Regions from separate parts of the Homo sapiens genome. Here region 1 is linked to region 2. Evidence: promoter capture Hi-C in 16 types of primary human blood cells and fetal thymus (Javierre and others, 2016). All regions are on one chromosome and are shown on one strand. Each heading gives the region's core, a stretch centred on a gene start or on the middle of the fragment in contact. The rest is flanking DNA. Distances are from core to core; before and after follow the strand shown. Region 1 overlaps ITK (IL2 inducible T cell kinase). Region 2 holds the start of ITK (IL2 inducible T cell kinase).

Region 1 (7,216 bases), core at 2,778-5,277, 46 kb before region 2:
CAGCAACAAATAACACGACCACATTTGAATTAAGAACCCTAATGCGTTAATAGGTGTCCTCATTAGCTTTATTCTTTAGGCCTGGTATCTTATATTTAGTGAGTAATTAATTTTTTAAAATTTTTAAATAATTTCAAACTTACAGAAAAGCTGTAAAATAGTGTAAAAGAACCATCATATACACATAACCCAGATGAGCCAATTGCTGATATTTTATACATTTGCTTTACTATTCTCTTTAGATAGACATAGATTGACTTTTCTTCTGAACTATTTGAGAATTGACTTTTATTCCTAAGTACTTCTGTGTCTATTTCCTAAGACACAGAGTATACACTTATCTAACCACAGTACAATTACCGAAGTCATGAGATTTAAGATCTACATAACACTATTACTTAACTGCAGATCTTATTCAAATTGTATCGGTTGTCCCAATAATGTATATTATAACAAAAAATATTTTTTTGTATGGGTCAAGATCCAGCCCAGGATCACCACTGTATTTAGTTACCATGTGTCTTTAATCTATTACTATTATTTTTTTTGAGATGGAGTTTCGCTCTTGTTGCCCAGGCTGGAGTTCAATGGTGCAATCTTGGCTCACAGCAACCTCTGCCTCCTGGGTTCAAGCAATTCTCCTGCCTCAGCCTCCCAAGTATCTGGGACTACAGGCGTGTGCCATCACACCCGGATAATTCTGTATTTTTAGTAGAGACGGTGGTTTCACCATGTTGGTCAGCCTGGTCTCAAACTCCTGATCTCAGGTGATCCACCTGCCTCAGCCTCCCAAAGTGTTGAGACTACAGGTGTGGGCCACTGCGCCCGACCTCTTTAGTCTTTTTTAATGTGGACCAATTTCTCAGCCTGTTGTGTCTTTCCTGATATTAACATTTTTTTTTGAAGAGCCCAGGACATTAATTTTAGAGAATATTCCCTAATTTGGATTTGTCTAATATATCCTTATGAATATATCCTTATAAGTAAATTTATGTTGTGCATTTTTTGAGCAGGAATATCACAGAAGTGATGTGTGCCCTTCTCAGTGCATCACATAAGGAGACACAAGATACCTTTTTGCTCCATTATTTATGTGCATTTGGATTGACTGTTTCAGACGGGCCTGCTAGTTACCTCCACTTTGTAATTACAAGTGATTTGTGAGGAGATACTTTGAGACTATGTAAATATGCCACAGCTCATCAAACTTTAACTTGCTAGTGGTGACATTCATTGAGGATTCTTGCCTGAATCAGTTGATACTCTGGGTTACAAAATGATGATTTTTAAACTTTATCATTCATTAGTTGGCATTCTACTATAAGAAAAAACCCTTTCCTTTTTATTTATTTACTTCTTTATTTATCTATCAGTCTATCTATTTATTACAGATTCTTATATTATTCAATGGTTTGTAGTCTATTACTTATTTTAATAGTCATTATTTATTTTGATACTCAAATTGTCCCAGATTTCATCAAATGGAGCCTGTTAGAGCCAACTTCTGTGCTCATCTGACACGCCCACATCTTTTTGTCTGGGCACAGCGGTTCATACCTGTGATCCCAGCAGTTTGGGAGGCCATAATGGGAGGATCACTAGAGCCCGGAAGTTAAAGACCAGCCTGGGCAACCTAGTGAGATCCTGTCTCTACAAAAAATTTACAAATTAGCTGGACATGGTGGCATGTGCCTGTAGTTCCAGCTACTTGGGAGGCTGAGGATTGCTTGAGCCCAGTAGGTTGAGGTTGCGATGAGCCGAGATCACACTATTGCACTCCAGCCTGGGTGACAGTGAGACCCTGTCTCAAAAAAAAAAATTAAAGAAGAAAAATTTCTTTTTAAGTACTTCTTTACTTTCTGGCACAAAAAGATGTTCCAAGTTCCTTTTTGTTCTATCCCTACCCCAAGCCTTTTCTCCAGAAAGTCCTGGTTTTTTTAGTGGAAAGCCTTATTTAGGTATCAAGAGCTGGATGGTATGTGTGAACATTGCTGTTGCAGTAGGGATCATCTGGTATTTTTACAGTCAACCAATAATTTATTCCTAACTTAAGGAGGATTCCTTAGGACTGTATTTTCCAAAAACAAATAAAATATCTTACTCATAGGTTTCCAGATTATTTGGAGATTTTTCCACCAGATAACTGCTTGGTACATATCCTTCATGCCTGTTAAAAGGAAAATTAATGTTTAGACTTACATAGAACTAAGTTTTATATCATTTTATAGGTTTAATCCATTAAAAGTCATTTAAAGATTGGGGAATATCACATTATTTGGCATTTGCGATAAGACATTTTAAAGTTTAGAATACAAGAATTGGTAGGCCGGGGGCGGTGGCTCATGCCTGTAATCCCAGCACTTTTGGAGGCCGAGGCAGGTGGATCACGAGGTCAAGAGTTTGAGACCAGCCTGGCCAATATGCTGAAACCCTGTCTCTACTAAAACTACACACACACAAAAAAATTAGCCGGGTGTGGTGGTACATGCCTGTAGTCCCAGCTACTCGGGAGGCTGAGGCACAAGAATCGCTTGAACCCAGGAGGTGGAGGGTGCAGTGAGCCGAGATCGTGCCACTGCTCTCCAGCCTGGGCAACAGAGCGAGACTCTGTCTCAAAAAAAAAAAAAAAAAAAAAAAAAAGGAATTGGTAAAAAATAATAGCAACTTGTCTGTTAAAGGCAGGTTGATTTCACTACTGAAATATGAAACATAATAAAAAAAGAAGTGGCGATTTTACTTAAAAAGCTCTGTTTGCTGTTCTCCTCATTGTGAAATTTCCTCTACTGGAAAAAAAGATTAATATTCAGTGTCTATTTTCTATAAGGAAACATTTTTGTGTGATAATCAACATTTTTTCCACTTTAGTACTATCATTTTATAGTCAGGAAACCAAAATAATTAAAATATAAAAGATGACTTTCCAACCACAGATTCTAAAAGACACTACCAGTTGGCATTGTAAGCTTTTTAATTTAAGGCCTCCCTAATTGAGCTTCTTCAGATATGAACGGTATAAACACGAGAAAAAAAGGATAAAGCCAGGCTAGATTTGGGGATCAGGAGTCACTTTTGAGCAAGAATTAATAATTGTGCATAAACAAAAAACATAATAAACAAAATAAGAATATCAAACTTCTTTACATTTGTGTATAACTTTGTAGTTTTCAAAGCACTTTCACATTCATTATCTCATTTAATACCACAGGGTGAAAGCGGCATCCCTTCTACTCTCTGGACCTCTGACTTTATACCCGTCAAATGAAGGGCTTAAACTATATTATACTTAAAATCTAGTTTAAGTAGATACTCCATACTCTGTCAATCTGTAAAAAGATGACTGATAGGCTGGGTGTGGTGGCTCACACCTGTAATCCTAGTACTTTGGGAGGCTGAGGTGGGTGGATCACTTGAGCTCAGGAGTTTGAGACAAACCTGGGCAACATGGTGAAACCCTGTCTCTAGAAAATATATAAAAATTAGCCAGGTGTGGTGGCATGCACCTGTAGTCTCAGCTACTTGGGAGATTGAGGCATGAGACTCACCTAACCTGGGTGGTGGCGGGTGGGGGCAGTGGTGTGGAGGTTGCCATGAGCTGAGATCGTGCCACTGCACTCTGGCCTGGGTGACAGAGCAAGACTCTGTCTCAAAAAAACAAAAAAACAAAACAAAACAAAAAAAGATGCCTGATAGTTTATTGCTCTTTATTCCATAACATGTTTTAATTTTCTTATAATAAGGCCAATTTTCAATCTAGTGATTATGTTTATGGGAAATGTGTAATCAGTTCAGAGTTGTGAAGAGTGAAGAAATCAAGACTGTAGGTGCCAAATACAGGATGATCATCTTATATTTTACTCCTCTGGCAGACATTGCTAATCAATCATGGCATACTTTCTTTGGAGAATTGGACATCTGCCCTCAGAATCATCCTTCATACAGTGCTCAAGGCAGCCATTCCAACGGAAGAAAGTCAGCTTATTCTGAAATTTGCCATTCCTTCTGTATCACTCTTGGAATTCCCTTAATTATGTCTACTTTTGCCATACTATACTTTTACAATTATATTAATGCATCAAATAATATTTTGCTTTTGAATAGCATATGCCACCCAAAGCTGGGTCATCTACACAAATGGTAACTCTCATAGTTGTATGTGGATATGTAGAATTTCCAAAGCTCTTTCACTTCCATTATCTCATTGATTTTCTCAACACTGTGACGTAGACAAAGCTGACATTATCAGCTGCATTTTACAGTTCACGAAATGGATTCACAGAGGAAAAGTGACTTGGTCATCTGTGAATGACATGGTCACACATATGACATGGTCATCTGTGAATCCTCAGCTTCATATGACAAGAGTAGCTGATAAAGTCCAAGTCCTCTGTCTCCCCATCTTGTGTGCTTTCCACTATACCACACTATCACAAAGCAAACTGGGGAAATTCCCATAATGCTGACTGGCTGCTGGGGTGTCCTCTTTGATGCCCTTTGAAGTGCATAGTTAAGCCTTTCCACAGGTCACCAAATGAAGGGTTTAACTCTCATTTGGGGAAGTAAGGCCTAGGAGAACAAATTTCCTGGTACATTAGGTGTGCTAAGTAAAGTCAGTTGATTGAACTAATGAATTTCTAGGTCCCTTCGGTGTTTGTAGACCCTGTAGACAGTCTTGAACCTATTTCGGATATGGGCCTGTCTATAATGGACAGAGAGAAGGTGATGTGACTAGCTCAATTGTCTTCATGAATCAACTAGAAAGGGAGGTTCCAGACGAGGGGAGTTGGGGTCTGTTCTTAGCTAGCAAACCACACTGCCTCTCAAACCATGGTTCTGAATCTCATCACGTTTTACCCTGTCTCACTTCTGTCTTTCCTCCCCCTGTAATGGGGTTGATAAGCCTACTTAAAGAGAAGGCACCTTGAAAATGTAAATTCTGGTGTATGTAAAAGGTAAAGTCTTATCCTTAAAGATATTTGTGCCCCTCTTTTTTTTTTTTAACCCATCAGATTGACTTTTTTTAAAAGTTCAATGATACCCAGTCTTGGCACTTCCATAACTCTGTTAGCAGGAAGGTAAATTTGGCAAGCTTTGTGAGGAAATTATGTGGCAAAATTAAGATATCACATACTCTGACTTAACTGTTGCACAGTTAGAAATGTGACATATAGGCCAGGTATGGTGGCTTATGCCTGTAATCCCAACTACTTTGGGAGGCTAAAGCGGGAGAATTTCTCGAGTACAGTAGTTTGAGACAAGCCCGGGCAACATAATGAGACCCCATTTCTACAAAAAATTCAAAAATTATCTGGGCATGGTGGTGCGTGCCTATAGTCTCAGCTCTGTAGGGGTCTGAGATGGGAGGATCACTTGAGCCTGAGAGGTCAAGGCTGCAGTGAACTGTGAGAGTGCCACTGTGCTCCAACCTGGGTGACAGAGCAAGACCCTGTCTCAAAAAAAAGAAAAGGAAAACTAATGTGATAAATATATATCATATATATATGTTTGTATTCCAAAGATGGCCAAGATACATGAATACAAGATCTTCATTAAAGCCTTGTTTGAAACAGCAGAGGAAACAAATAAACTGGCAACTAAATGTCTCACCATAAAGGATTATTTAAATACTAATAATACAATCATACATTCTAAGATTGTGCAATTATTATTATTATGATTATTTTTGAGATGGATTCTCATTCTGTCTCCCAGGCTGGAGTGCAGTGGTGTGAGCTTGGCCCACTGCAACCTCCACCTCCCAGGTTCAAGCGATTCTCCTGCCCCAGCCTCCCGAGTAGCTGGAATCACAGGCGCCTGCCACCACACCCAGCTAATTTCTTGTATTTTTAGTAGAGATGGGGTTTCACCATGTTGGCCAGGTTGGTCTTGAACTCCTGACCTCAGGTGATCAGCCCACCTTGGCCTCCCAATCAAAGTGCTGGGATTACAGGCCTGAGCCACTGCGGCCGGCCCATGCAACTATTTTAAAAATGAGGTAGATTTGCATGTGCTGGTATGAAAAGATCTTCAATGTGTATTAATATCATTAAAAATTAAAAGCAAGATGCAGAACAGAATGGATCCACTTGGTACAAGTGAAAAAAGGATGCATTTGCACAGGTATAACTTTTATTTATGATACACAAGAAGGTATTAATAGTGATCACTTTTTTTTTTTTTTTGAGACAGAGTCTTGCTCTGTCGCTCAGGCTAGAGTGAAGTGGCACCATCTTGGCTCACTGCAACCTCTCCCTCCTGGGTTCAAGTGATTTTCATGCTTCAGCCAGTGGAGTAGCTGGGATTACAGGCTTGAGCCACCACACCATGCTAATTTTTGTATTTTTAGTAGAGACAGGGTTTCACCATGTTGGCCAGGCTGGTCTCAAACTCCTGGCCTCAAGTGATGCACTCACCTTGGCCTCCCAAACTGCTGGGATTACAGGCGTGAGCCAGTGCACCCGGCCAAATAGTGATTACTTTTGGACTTGATGTGGGGGCAAATGGAGGGTGGCTTATTTTTTATGTATATTTCTCTCTACTGTTAGTTAAGTAAAATGTTGACATAAATGATCTATATGTTGCAAGGACAGTTTTCTTTTTTATACTTTAAAATTAATAATAACCTCATACCTTGAAAACATTTAAACCCCTAATATTAATATACAAAGATGTTCGTTGCAGTGTTGTTAATATTTGCAAAATATTGGAGATAACCTAAGTGTTCAACAAGGGAATTTGCAATTTAGAGTACATTTATGGCTGGATTGATGCAACTATTGAACTCAGATTCTGGAAAATATTCCAGAGCATGGGTTAATACATCGGATATATTAAGAGGAAAAAAAAACCTTAAAAGGCAGTGTGAATCTCATGCTTGGTATTTTTTTCATTCAAAAGTTGCATAGTGGGAAAGTAGTATTTGTACAACCTTATTTTCTCCCTGAGTCATGTGGATGGCTAGTTCAATGACTGCGATTGTAACTAAATCTTTAGTGTCTTCTTTCTGATGCGTCCTAACATAACTATCAATCTGTACCATCTCTATACACACATTTTCTTTTCACCAAAAATAAGCACTTCCTAATGGGATGTACCTTCAGCCTCACTTAACACTCAGGAACAATAGCACTTTGCAGAACAAATTGCCAAGCTCCCAAATTGTAGATGTCAGTGGAAAAATCCAGGGGGTTTTTTAGATGAGTTTGGGTCTGGAGTGCCT
Region 2 (7,632 bases), core at 1,951-4,450:
TTGGCCCCTCTGAAAACACTTGCACATCTCAACAGGAAAAACAGGCATCGAACACCAGAACTAAAACCATGTTAAAGTAAAACCTCAATCAATTAGTATTATAATGACAATAGGCATGATTTTTTAGGTTAGAATAAACATACTTGATTTCTAGAATTACAGAATATGTTCTTGAGTATGTAGAAGGGTTATTTTTCATATGGTGTTATAAATTCATAGAATATGAGAACTGCAAGAATCATAATTTTACACATGAGAAAAGAGAAAAAGAAGCTCTGACACCCGACACCCTAAGAGGGGCAATAACTGGCCAAACAGCTCATAATGCATGTATATCTACCCCACAAAACTTATATTTAGCCACAGAATAGAAGGAATCCAGGACCCTGATCTTAGCTTGACTTTGAAGAATCCTTGAATATCTCCCATAATTTGAAAATGAATTGTTATGACAGCCTGCTAGCTTCTGTAGAGACATGAAAGGGATACAAATAATGGTTAATTTTTACTAGATGCTTACCAGATGACAGGGCCTATGCTAAGTACCTAATATATTAAGTTGAATTGTTTGAAACTTCTAATATCTGATATTCGATCTGCCAAATAATTTCAAAAAGTTCAGCCTAAAGACATTATACCTCTGAGTCTTTGCCATCTTCCTATGAAATGGGTACTATTATCACACCCATTTTACAGATTGAAAATGAAGCCTTTAATTTAAAAATGAAAATGTTCTTCCCATAAGTGTAATGTTATTTACTTATGAGTAATATTAATGCAGCCTTGTGTGCAAATTGGTGGCCTGAAACCATGTAGTATACCTAAGACATGAACAATAATAATTCACATATATTACCTTTTTCAGGGAACTTGGATAAATTTCTAATTAATAAACTTCTATAATAATTAAATAATTAAAGAAATACTTTTAAAATGTTATTTATAAGAGTAAAAAAGGCATTAGAAAACAAGAAATTTGATGTTTGGACATGTATTCTCTATATCTCACATGGAAGAATTAGAAACTGTAGCCTAGGGCTCCCCAGAATGAAGTAATTGTCTTGAAATTTTCCATAATGCTCAGATAAAGAAGTAGGGTGATTTTACAACCTTGTCTACATGCAAATTATGACCAATAATATTCTGAATTAAGGCCATCTGGTTTTGTGATTACTTACAAATAATATTGAGCTGAATTCACAATCAGTTCACAAATAGCAGTTGGGCTAAGGAATTATTAATACTAACTAAATGAGATGATACTATGTTGAATCAGAAAAACGAACTGGTGAAAACTGCAAAATGGACTTTGAAAAAAATATTTAAAGGTACATGACTGTTCTTTCAATATGAAACAAAAACTTTAAATGTTCCATTCACAAAAAAGCATTGAGTAATGCCATGCGATTTATTAGCTCTACATGATAAATCCCCCAAGTTCACAAACTGGGCTCCTGGCCACCTAGCAAAGAGGACTTGCACGTAATTCCATGTGTTTTCTGATTGACTGGTAAATTGTTATCAGTAAGAGTCTGATAATAAGACAAGCAATTCTTTTCACTTCTAAAGAGGCAGAGCTATTTCGCCTGCAACTTTTTTGTTTTCTGTATTTTTTTAATTCACAAAAGACATGCAACACCTGCAACTTTAAAAAGTGAGGCATCCATAGGCTCTATACCCAGCCTGACCTCCTCTGGAGCTCCATCTCATGAAGTGCTTTAAACCCTGGCACACCAAAGAATCCCAAACTCATGCCACCACCTACTAAGTCAGACTCCAACAAAGAACTGGAGCACTTTTGTTTCTAAGTGACCATCAGGCACCTAATATTATTTTCCCTTCAGTAAAATATAAGTGATAATCCTTGTCCTACCCCACTAATGATGTAAAAATAATATAACCATACAGTAAGAAATCAAACATGCTTTGAAAAATTGCAGCATAGGGCTAAACAAGAGCCACTGCATAAAGCAAAGAAGTTTTGAAGAAGAAAGGGATCTTGAAGGTTGTTATTTCCAGTTTTTTCATTTTATGAAGAAAGAACCTGAAACAGGAGGTAGACATTTGCCCAGACTGGATCACCTACTGAGAAGTAGAGTTTGGTCTCCTGACCCTTTGTCCAATGCTTTTTCTACCAAACTACATTATTAGGATTATTCCTGTTGCTTTTGTTATTAGTGATGTTAAGAAGCACAAGACTATTTTTAGATAAAGAGATAGACTGACCTAGCAAAGCAGCCATACTCCTTCTGGGTAAGAACCGCTGGTCTGCACTGCAGAAACTTTGTTCTTAATAACCCTGGTGTCCTAAGAAGTCTATCAAGAGATGAAGAGGTTTGCCATTGTGCCTTACAACTTTTAGATAATTAAATGCCTGGGAAATCTTATTTCAAGATCAGGCTAGCGACGAGTATTGAGACAAACAGAGTTATTCATGAAAACGTTAACACTGAACCCAAAACTTAACCATTCTAAACACCAGTTTCTTCCACTAAAAAATAAGAAAGCTGGGGTAGATCATCCCATTGAATGCTAGTGTTGTATTAATCTATGTTTCATTAAATTTAGTATGTTTCATTAAATTTAGTATGTTTCATAGAAAGTTCAAGTTTTATCGAATCATAATACTTGCTACCTAAAATGTTATTCATAATTTAAAAACCAAACATAACCTTGCAGGGGGAAAAAGCTGATGAATGTTAAATTTACAGTTTTTAGAACTGAAATCACCTAGCACCACCATTTCACCTCTTGACTGCTCTCTGCATTCTCCTCTGATTACTTTTACTGTACTTTTTATGTTGTTACAATAAGCATGTTTGTGTTTCCTGTGCTCTATTTTATGCTATGTATATATTTTTGCATTAGCCCAGTCCAAACATAAAATGCTATGCGAAAAAAGACAAATGAAACTGCTCACATACCCCATGACGATCTTCAAAGTATGCCAGGCTGGCTTTGGTTAACACAAAGAAGCGGACTTTAAAGTTCGAGGGAGAAGTTCTTCTCTTTTGTTGGGATTTCTTGATGAGCTGTTCTTCCAGGAGGATAAAGTTGTTCATGATCCAGTTCTTGAAAGGTGGTGCACCTTGGGCATCACCTCTTAGCACAACCAAAGGAAAGAGTTTTGGGGCAAAGAATGCAATGTGGAGGCAGTTGATCTTCAGAGAGCTGCTCAAGGGCAACTTGCCTTCAACGTTATCTTTCTATCAACGTTCAGCCAACATAGCTGAGCTTCTCCTCTGATGTCAAAGGCCGAAACCACATCCTTTCAAAATTCACAAAACGAGGAGGCATATGTAAAAAATACATACAGCCTTTGCTAATGGCTTGAAATGATATTTGAAAAACTGTAAACTCAAAATTGTGGTAAGGATTACAGTTTAATCTTTATAGTTCCTGGTTTAATCCATCCAGCAGTTAAATCATGTAGCACAAGGAGTAAGGACAATGTGTGGTTTTGCTTACCATGATATACTCAGCAACCATCACAGTACCTGACACATAAAACAGATGTTCAAGAAAAATTTGTTGAATGGATCATCACCAAATTGGGTTGGACAATTAAAAGAGGTAATGAGCACAAAACCCTCACACATTAAAGTGAAGAAATATGTTGCTGAAGTTTATTAGTTTTTAAGATTTAAATTAAAGCCCATAGAAATTTCTCAATGCTACATATAGATGACTGCCTTTCTGTCCTGACGTTTTGTGGAAGAGTGAAAAATAAGTGAATCCTTCAGAATGGCATAATAAACAAAGTATATGTGGGCTTTGAAAACAGACAAACTTGTGTTGGATTCCCAGCTCTGTCACTTACTATGCTGTTTCTCTTTGAGCAAGCCATGACTTCTCTGATCCTTAGCTTCCTTGTGAGGGTCCTTTGGAGGACTGAATCCCATACATCTTATGAATGGTAGGTGCTAGTCATACATGTCACCTTAGAGTTAGTACATAGTTGAAGTATAATGTGTGACAGTTACCTCTACTATGTTAATAATCAAGAGATTTTAGTGTAAGCAGATATTGCATGTAGTGGGTAGGGATAAATAATAAATGAAATAATAATTATTGCTGTATAGGAGTGAAATTCTCCAATGTTTATTTTTAAATGTAAATTACCAGACAACAGCCTAATTTTATTTCATATACTGGATGCCCCAGCATAATCAAGACACCCAGGAGGGTACGGTACTGGTATATTTTAAATTACCTCCCCCATTCTGAGATTCTTAAGACATATGTGTGGAAATACACTGCCCAAACAAGATAGTATTTTTTTTTTCTGAGTATGGGCTTGAGGTAGGGATTGCTACTATTCCCAAATAGCTACTCTCTCCTTCTTACTAGAGTAACAGAATCCCTGACAGTTATCTGGGCATCTGGCCAGCAAGAATAAAGACTACAAATTTTAGCCTCCCTTGTAGCTAGGTGTAGTTGTATGACTGTCTTCTGGTCAACTGAATGTAGCAGAAGTCGTGTGCACAACTTCTAGGAAATTTCCTTAGTGGGATCTGTCATCCCCTTTTCTTTCCCTTTTCCTCCTGCCTTGTGACTAGAATATTGAGGTAACAGTTGGAGCTGAAGCAGCTATCTAGTATCATGAGGTGGAAATTGAATGTTGAGGACAATGGAGTATAAGATAGAAAGAGCCTGGGACCCTGGTGACCATGGATCTTCCATGCCAGCCCTGGATTACATTTTTTAATATCTATTTTCTAAGTCTCAGTTATTTTGAGGTTTCTGTCACTACCAGCAAACCTAGATAATACAGTGCTATCTTCTCAAACTAGACTACAAACTCCTCTGAGGAAAGTACATTTTACACCTGCTTGGTTCAGATGAAAAGAGTTATAGACTTCACAAAGTGTTCTCATCCGGGAAAACAAAATATCATCAGTAGCTGTTGCAATACTTAGGAGTCTTTCGTTTGCTCAGTCTACATGGAGTGTCATCGTAAGTAATTTTATTCTCTTTCTCATAGAGCCATCAAACCCACTAACTGAGACTCATCTTTGCCAACTTTTAAATGCAAACTTAGGAGGCTCAATATTTTTTTCTCACTTTAAGGAAAACATAAACAAAAACAAATAGTCCCTTTGTTTGTTTTGGTTTTAAAAAGTTCACTTCATAGGAGCCAAATTCAAGGAGTTCCCACTTGCCAAAGATGGAACAATTTGAGTATCAAAAGGAATAATAATTGCCATGAATTGAAGAACAGCAAAAATGTTAAAACAATGAGTTCAAAAGAGAATTGAAAAAAGCATCCCAACCTTTTGATCACTTTTGGAGGATGCTGAAGAACCAACTTGTTTTTCTGAAAACTGGAAACAAAGGAAAAAAATAAAACATATTGCTTGCTTTTCTTGAAGAATTATCTTTCAATTCAGTGATCAAGTATTTAATGAGGAAGTTCTTTTTTTCCAAGAAACTAATCAATGAAGGAGTGACAGAATACTATCGTTTTGCAATGCCAATGAAATAATAAATGTAGGCAATGATCATCAATGGCTGTTAAAATTATTACGCAAAAAGCCAATAGGAAAATGTATAACTGTCATATGAAGCTGACAACACTGTAACACACTGATTAATCTTAAAAGAAGGACAACCAGACATTGTATGTCTCCTGAGGTGAAGCAAGAGGAAGTACACAAAACTGGCAACTCGGGAGTCTTGCCAAGAGAAAACAAAATCAAACACAAATCTAATCAAACTTCGAGATATAAATTCGAGTTTACAGGAAATACAAGAGATAAACGAACCTGACAAATGACACTGTGGAGATGCAATTGGATGAGTCCAGAATACAAAACATGCTAAGGACAAATGACTCAGTATCAGTAACAAATAAGTCATAGAGGGCAGGGCACGGTGGCTCATGCCTGTAAGCCCAGCACTTTGGGAGGTCAAGGGGGTGGATTGCTTGAGCCCAGGAGCTTAAGACCAGCCTGAACAACATGGTGAAACCCTTTTTCTACAAAAAATTAGCCAGGCATGGTGGCACACACCTGTAGTCCCGCCTACTCGGGAGGCTGAAGTGGGAGGATCACTTGAGCCCAGTGGGTGGAGGTTGCAGTGAGCTGGGATTGCAGCACTGTACTCCAGCCTGGGTAACAGAGCCAGACTCTGTCTCAAAAAACAAAAGCAAAACAAAACAACAAATAAATCAAAGGGGGAACCCTTAGATTAAAAGAGACTTTAAGAGACATATGAGCATGTTTGGACTTTGGATTAAGAGTTAAGCAAATCAACTGTATAAAGACGTTATGAGACAATTAGACAAATTTGAATGTTAAAGAGATGTTTGATAATACTGAGAAACTTGTTATTTTTTAAGATGTAATAATGGGCTGGGTGTGGTGGCTCACACCTATAATCCCAGCACTTTGGGAGGCTAAGGTGGGCGGATCACGTGAGGTCAGGAGTTCGAGACCAGCCTGGCCAACATGGTGAAATCCTGTCTCTACTAAAAATACAAAAGTCAGTGGAGTGTCGTGCTGTGTGCCTGTAATTCCAGCTACTTGGGAGACTGAGGCAGGAGAATCGCTTGAACCTGGAGGGCGGAGGTTGCAGTGAGCTGAGATGGTACCACTGCACTCCAGCCTGAGCAACAGAGCAAGACACCATCTCAAAAAAAAAAAAAAAAAAGATGTAATAATGGCACTATTATCATGTTAAAATAGTCCTTATTTTGTATAGAAACATACACTGAATTATTGATAAAACAATAAAATGTTTATGATTTGCTTCATCATAATCCAGTGGAGGGGGAGAAATTGGTAGGGGAAGGGATGAAAACTGTTTGACCATGACTTGATAATTGCTAAAGCTGGCTAATGGGTACATCATTATTCTACTCTCCTTGCACCGATGCACGTTTGAAAATTTCCATAATAAAAAGTTAAGCAAAGAAAAAGGGGCTGGGCGCGGTGGCTCACGTCTGTAATCTCAGCACTTTGGGAGGCCGAGGCGGGTGGATCACCTGAGGTCAGGAGTTTGAGACCAGCCTGGCCAACATGGTGAAACCCCGTCTCTACTGAAAATACAAAAATTAGCTGGGCATGGTGGCAGGTGGCTGTAGTCCCAGCTACTTGGGATACTGAGGCAGGAGAATAGCTTTAAACCCAGGAGGCGGAGGTTGCAGTGAGCTGATTGAACCACTGCATTCCAGCCTGGGTGACAAGAGCAAAACTCTGTCTCAAAACAACAACAACAACAACAATACAAAGAAAAGAAAAAGAAAGCCCAGTTCAGTTCAAGGTAATAATCAAAACTCCAAACATGTATTCAAGTTGATGCTTTTCCGTAACTTTGCATGGGTTTGCTTCAGGATTTGAAGCATGTTGGCTTTTCCACCATGTCCTAACCTCTCTTTTCCCACACACAAGCCTGGTTTCTGACACACCTGAGTCGGAAGCTCAGGCTGGAGGGAAAAGAGGAAGAGGGGTAAAGGGTGCAACGTTCATGAAGCTGCAGCAGTAATCTGGGGATGATGTCCTTGGGATGTGGTGGATGAACAATTGCTGCTTTTTCTTGCATGTTTCATGTGCTTTGCTGTTTTCAGAGATTTTCCAGCTGAAGGTTCTGACAACTGTTTCCCTGATGTAGGAGTTGCCACTCTCCTTGGCC

Evidence for each region. The method cuts DNA at HindIII sites, captures the fragments that hold promoters and counts their contacts. A CHiCAGO score of 5 or more calls a contact.
Region 1: a fragment that was not itself captured here is called in contact with the fragment with the promoter of ITK in region 2 in 7 of 17 cell types (non-activated CD4 T cells, activated CD4 T cells, naive CD4 T cells and 4 more); the score reaches 20.5 in non-activated CD4 T cells.

What each region holds. Positions count from the first base shown.
Region 1 is chr5:157,223,247-157,230,462 of GRCh38, reverse strand. ITK (IL2 inducible T cell kinase) reads right to left here. Exons shown (of 17, transcript NM_005546.4): 7 at 2,102-2,167. Among named protein-coding and RNA genes, the nearest start is that of CYFIP2, 39 kb to the left of the region's middle. The HindIII fragment of the contact is 2,123 bases long and covers 2,966-5,088 here.
Region 2 is chr5:157,176,408-157,184,039 of GRCh38, reverse strand. It overlaps ITK (IL2 inducible T cell kinase), which reads right to left and starts at 3,200. Exons shown (of 17, transcript NM_005546.4): 1 at 2,925-3,200. The coding sequence starts at 3,062. The HindIII fragment of the contact is 39,229 bases long and covers 1-7,632 here.